Regions from separate parts of the Homo sapiens genome. Here region 2 is linked to region 1. Evidence: promoter capture Hi-C in 16 types of primary human blood cells and fetal thymus (Javierre and others, 2016). All regions are on one chromosome and are shown on one strand. Each heading gives the region's core, a stretch centred on a gene start or on the middle of the fragment in contact. The rest is flanking DNA. Distances are from core to core; before and after follow the strand shown. Region 1 holds the start of OCA2 (OCA2 melanosomal transmembrane protein). Region 2 overlaps HERC2 (HECT and RLD domain containing E3 ubiquitin protein ligase 2).

Region 1 (3,304 bases), core at 595-3,094:
ATCCTGCCCCCTGGCCTCCAGGCTCTGGGCTTTCCTCCCCTCTGTGGTAGCCTTTATCTCCATTGCAAGCCATCTTTCCACTACTAACAGTTAAAAGCCTCCCCTTTCTCTCTACTCTCCCAAGAAACCTCATCCTCACCTGTGGACAGGTGGCCGCCCAACTCTCTTCTGCAGCTCAAACCACTGTGTCCATCTACCTCTTTGTGTCCCTAGACATAAAGGTACCCAAAACTCCCAGAGTGCTGAAGCCACACCTGGCCTTTCCCAGGGGCCCACTGATCCCACCATCCATCACCCATCACCAACTGGGAATCCCCCCTGCAGCTCACCAGTGCTTCCCTGCCCCGGCCTGGCAACCACACTCAGTGGGAAGGCCTTGGCAGTGGCTTTCTTCAACTCCCCAGCTGCTCCCAACCCCCCAGCCACAGTGATCTTTCCAAAATGCATATGGCCTCAAACTCAAAATATTTCCTTGCTGCCTGCCACTCCAGCATAGAAACGGGGACCCAGGTGACACAGGTGTCATGCCGCTGGGTTTCCAGGGACAGCCAGGACCTCCCCATTCCTGGTATTCCTGATATCCTCAGATCTCAGCTGCTCCAGGGGCTGGAGGTTGCGTTCTTCTCATAAAACAAGAACAGTATAGGCATTTGCTTTTCATCAGTGTAATGAAACTTTAGGGACTTATGATCCTAAATCACATTACACCAATGTGAACTGCACTCAAATTGTTGTAAACTAAATTTGCAGAACAAGCAGTTTTTGTGCAATTCTTTGCAGTCTACTCAGCTCTTTCATCTCTGTGTTCAGGTTCAATCCTCATTAGTTCTTCTATGAGAGATAGTTATCCCCAGATGCGTTCAATGCTCAGCTCCTTGCCCTGGCAGGCCCCGTCCCAGGGTCCTGGATGGCAGATGCCATGCCCGCCCCGCGAAGCTCAGGCTCACCAAGCAAGCAAACCGCAGCTGGTTTAGGTAGACAGCAGCTGCCCACAACTGCTAACAGCCTCGGGTTTCTTTTCCTCAGAATCACTCACCCTAAATCTACACATTGTAGACTGTCACATTGGTCTAAGTAGTGCTCCTCAAAGTGCACTGCACATTAGAGTCACCTGGGGAGCTTCACCGCCGGGCCCCAGGCTCTGATTCGCCCAATGGGAAGGGAGCACCGGGCACTTGTCCTGAGCCCCTGGCCCCTGCCTGGTTCTGCAAACCCAGAGCGTCCACATACCAGGCTTCCTGTGCTTAACATTGTGTCCTTGAAAAGAGCTAGCTGCACTAATGCCCATTGATTTCACTGTGTGTGACCACAGTAAAGAGAAGCAGCTTTGAGGGATTTAGTGTTTTCACTCCAGTGCATTCCATTCTAAGGAAACGCCTGACCACGGCTCATGGCTAGGAGGCCCCGCAGTGCCAGATGCTGCCCTGGAGTTCAAGTGGAACATTTGCTGTCTGAACCTTTCCAAACTCCCCCCACCCATGACCTCATGGCCCACCAGGGGGCGACTTTTTCCTGGGTCGCCTGGCAGAGAGCCGGAGGGGGTGCTCAGGGGGCAGCTGCTGCAGGCCCAGGCGGACTCAGCCGCGCTAGGTCGGCTCCGTCGCACCCGTCTGTGCACACTAACCTTTAGGGGAACTTGCCTTGCTTCCTAAGCCGCGACTCAGCCGGGGCTGTGTAAACCCTCCCTGCCTGTTCCCAGGCTAGTCTGGCTCCTCGCCTCCTTCCTCCCGACCGCGGAGCACGTGCACTTTACCTGCGCACTTGCAGATCTTTCTCCAGGAGTGAGTTTAAGGTCCGCACCTCCGCTCTGGATGGTGAGCGGAGCACAGCCTTCGAAGTAAGAACTCAGAGGGAGCTCGGCGCTCCCGCAGCGGGTCCCCCACCCAGGCACGCCCCCGGCCCGGCCCCGCCCACAGCACTCCCCACTCGGCCCCGCCCACAGTGCGGCCACGCCCGTAGCACGCCCCTCCCGGCCACGCCCACAAAGCTGCCCACATGGCCCCGCCCACAGCTCGCCCGCTCCGCACCCCCGGCCCCTCAGCTCCCCAGCCCCCGGCGGCGCGGGCTGAGAGCAGCTCCGTCTAAGGCCACGCCGCCCCGGCGTCCCCGACAGCGCTCTCCGCGGGGATAGTTTCCAGCTTTACCTCTAAAGAGGCGGCCCAGGACTGCGGACAGGCTTTTCCCTATGAACAAGAACGGGGAAATGCTCAGTGAACATTCTGTTCCCTTCAGAGCTCTCCCAGCGGGCACTGAGAGGCCCTCCAGCTAGGACGCCAAGGTTACACTTGCCGACAGCCCCTCCTGCAGCACAGACACACACACGAGATACACAGACACACACAGATACACAGACACACACAGATACACACAGACACACACACAGATACAGAGATAGACACGATATACACAGACACAGATACACAGATACACATACACAGAGACACACACAGAGACACAGCAATACACAGACACACAGATACAGGACACAGATACACAGATGACACACAAGGACACATGCAGATACACAGACACACATACACAGATACACACAGACACATGCACAGATACACAGAGACACACACACAGGCACAGAGATACACACAGATACACAGATATACACACAGACACAGATACACAGACACACACAAATATATACAGATACTCAGACACAGATACACAGACACAGGTACAGACACACAGATACAGATACAGAGATACATACAGATACAGAGATACAGAGACACACACAGATACACACACGGACACACACAGAGATACACAGACACAGATATACACAGGCACACAGATACAGACACACAGATACACACATGCACAGATACACACAGATACAGAGATCTACACACAGAGATACACAGACACACAGATACGCAGACACAGAGATACACAGATACATAGACACATACAGACACACACACAGATACATGCACAGACACACACGCAGATACACATATACAGATATACAAACACAGATATACGCACAGACACACACAGATACACACACAGATACAGACACACACACAGATACACGCACAAACACATGGAGACAACACAGCTACAGACACACACACAGCTGCAGTGGCCAGGCCCTGCACAGGAATTGGCAGGAAGTAAGAGGCTCCATCCACAGTGTAACAGCAGAGCTGAAAGAGATCTCATGCCTTATAACAGAGCACATTGCACAGCCACAGGGTGGGCCAGGGGTTGCCCTGGTAGCAGGGACCGAGGATGTCCTCGGCATGGCAGGCTCCAGGACACTGAAGTTCCCAGCCAGGGCCCTGACAGC
Region 2 (3,356 bases), core at 544-3,043, 160 kb after region 1:
GCTCGACGAAATTTTTGTATTTTTAGTAGAAACAGGTTTCACCATGTTAGCCAGGCTGGTCTCAAACTCCTGACCTCAGGTGATCCACCCATCTCGGCCTCCCAACGTGCTGGGATTACAGGCGTGAGCCACTGTGTCTGGCGTAAAATCTTTTAGAAAGCAATCTCCAGACTCAGATGGGATTCAAAAACATTTAAAGAAGAAATAACACTAATTCTACACAATCCCTTATAGAAAATGAAAAAGGACGGAACACATGCCAATATTTTGTATAAGGTCAGCTTTCCCCTGATAGAAAGTCAGACAAGATAGTATAACACAAAGAAAGAAAACCACAAACCAACATCTCTAATGAGCATCAACAGAAAAATCCTCAACAACCTGTTAGCAAGTCAAATTTTGCAATACAGAAACAGAATAGGGCCAGGCACAGTGGCTCACACCTGTAATCCCAGCACTTTGGGATGCCAAGGAGGATGGATCACTTGAGGTCAGGAGTTGGAGACCAGGCTGGCCAACATGGTGAAACCCCATCTCCACTAAAAAGAAAAAAAAAAAATACAAAAATTAGCCAGGCATGGTAGTGCACACCTATAATCCCAGCTACTCAGGAGGCTGACGCAGGAGAATTGCGTGAACCCAGGAGGCACAGGTTGCAGAGAGCTGAGATTGCACCAATGCACTCCAGTCTGGGTGACAGAGTGAGACTCCATCTGGCAAAAAAAAAAAAAAAAAAAAAGAGTAGTAAATTGTGGCCAAGTGATGCCTATCCAAGTAACACAAGGCTTGATCAGTATTTAAAAATCAGGCTGGTGCAGTGCCTCACACCTGTAATCCCAGCACTTTGGGAGGCCAAGGCAGGCAGATCGCTAGAGCTCAGGAGTTCGAGACCAGCCTGGGCAACATAGTGAAACCGTATCTCCAAAAAAGAAAAAAAAAAAATGTTTAAGAAAAAGAAAAGTAAAAAGCATCATGTAATACACCATACTAACACACTAAAGAAGGAAAACTGCATGACCATTTCATTTGAGAAGATTAAAAGCATTTAACAAATTTTAACATCCAGTCAGGATTTTTTAGAAGCTTCTAAAACGGGGAATTAAAGACACTCCCTTAATCTGATAATAAGGCATCTACATAAATACCCACAGCTAACATCACAGTTGATGGTGAAAGACTGAACTGCCTTCCCCTACAGTCAGGATCAAGGCAGGGTGCCCACTGTCACCTCTCCTATTCAGCTTCACACTGCAAGTCCTGGCCAGGGCAATCAGGCCGGGAAAAGACATAAAAGGCGAGCAGACTGGAAAGGAAGAAATGAAACTGCCCCTCTATACAGATAGCATTTAATTGTCCATGAAGAAAACCCAAGGAAACTACAGTGAAGCTCATAATAAATGAGTTTAGCACAACTGCAGGACACAAGAACAACAAACAAAACTCAGTGGTATTTTCTACATACTGGTAATGAACAACTGGAAACCAAAATCCTCCAAAATACCAAATCAAGCTCTATATTCAGTACCTGGGCAGGCCCACAGGCAATTCCCACTATGTGTTTGGTGTCCAGTCCTGGCAATGCTGCAGGTTCTGGCTTGGTCACGCGCAAGGTGTCAAAGTGCTGGCACTGGTCGTTGCTCCCCCAGCTGTGGACCTCGCTGTCCTCAGTCAGAGCCAGGCAGTGGGTGGAGCCTGCAGCCACATCAATCACCTTCTTCCCTACAAGGGAAGAGGGATGCAGATGCAGCTTCAAGCCTATGACTTCCGCTGCAAGAAAGATATTTCCTAGGCCATTCAGGTCAGACAGCTTTTAACATTAACTTCTTGAGGATAATCTGCTTTGCTTTAATATTAAGCACAATTCATTTGCTTTGGGTGTGTTATTAAAACTGCTGTATTTTGTCAGCTACAATTCGTTAGGACCCACAGTCTACAAAGATCATAATACTAGGATACAAAAAGGATCTGTTTTTTTTTCTCCTCCTCATTCAGATTTTCAGTCAGAAAGAAACAAGGTGCTTTTAATTAACTATTAGATCATATTCTCCCATCCGAGATTTAACAATGCATAGCACACTCTTCAGTGAGGAAGGTTTCCTAAGAAGAAATCTATTGTTCTCTCAGTTAGATATAACTGATATTTAAAACATTGTTTCTATTTAAACACTTAGCAAAATATTCTATTTTTCCTTCCTGGTAAATCTAACATGGCCAACACAAAGGGTGTTTCGCAGAAATGTCAGTATATAAAATAATTCAGCTGAAAAACCACACTGCAGTAAGGGGAAAAATTCTATCCTAGGAACTTACCATAAGTTAACATCAGCAACAAAAAAGGTGTTTCTCAACAGTAATTTAAATACCCTCAAAGTAAATGATTTCTATACTAATGATTGTCGTAGCTTTCCTATACTAATGGAGGGGAATATAAACAAGAAGGCAAATGAAATTCAAATACCATTCAATGACACAGAGTAAACTTCTTACTCTGCAACTTATCTCAGAAGCTTAGAAAACAATAAACACCATATGGGCGCACAAAACTCTCAGTCATCAAAATATTAACCTGCTTTAAAATAAAACTAATGGAGAAGGGAACTGGCAAGTCTCACTTAAAAGTCCCACTTCCAAACCCACTTGGTAAAGAACCAAACACACAAAGAATGTATGTAGTACCAGGACCCAACGAACTACAGCCCCCACACACAACGCAGCCCAAGGCCTGCTTCTGTGAAGACACTGGTGTTGGAACACTGCCAGGTCCACCTACTTCAAATACAATCTGGTCCTTTAAGAAAAAGGCTGCCCACCCCTGAGAGAAGAGAACCCTAAAGAGTCCATCTGATGTACCTCTCACACTGCCTTTTCCCTTCTTCCTACTTTCTTGTCAATTTGTCTGCCCTTCAACAGTTCTCGATTAGGATGAAGACTATCTCCCAACCACTAGGCCAGGTGGTACGGAAAAGTCCTGTTTTACCTTAGAAAGATCCCTCCAACATCATAGTTTTGATGGCCCCCACCCCAACTTCCTGCAGCATAACATCCCTAGTAAGAACACCACAGAAGAATCTCAGGGTCTTCTTGCAGAGACTCCCATCCTCTCTGCCTGCACCGGCAGCCCACACTGAAGGCGCCGGCACTCTTATCTACATACCTTGGCTTCCATCTCTTGCCTCCAACTACAATGCATGCTGGACACCTTTGCAACTGAGCAAGCAGGAATCACCCACCAAGGATGAGTTCACATGAGGGTGTCCCAAGTGGACCCAATCCCACCTCCCAATGTGGCTCCACAGCACAATGCACACTCATGGTCTCAGTGTGCCTGCAGTACAAGTACAGGTGACCTCACCACA

The links. The method cuts DNA at HindIII sites, captures the fragments that hold promoters and counts their contacts. A CHiCAGO score of 5 or more calls a contact.
Region 2: a fragment that was not itself captured here is called in contact with the fragment with the promoter of OCA2 in region 1 in 2 of 17 cell types (M0 macrophages and M1 macrophages); the score reaches 6.2 in M0 macrophages.

The regions. Positions count from the first base shown.
Region 1 is chr15:28,097,471-28,100,774 of GRCh38, forward strand. It overlaps OCA2 (OCA2 melanosomal transmembrane protein), which reads right to left and starts at 1,845. Exons shown (of 24, transcript NM_000275.3): 1 at 1,754-1,845. RefSeq lists an enhancer at 1,140-1,792. The HindIII fragment of the contact is 17,781 bases long and covers 1-3,304 here.
Region 2 is chr15:28,259,252-28,262,607 of GRCh38, forward strand. HERC2 (HECT and RLD domain containing E3 ubiquitin protein ligase 2) reads right to left here. Exons shown (of 93, transcript NM_004667.6): 16 at 1,526-1,719. Among named protein-coding and RNA genes, the nearest start is that of HERC2, 61 kb to the right of the region's middle. The HindIII fragment of the contact is 1,424 bases long and covers 1,082-2,505 here.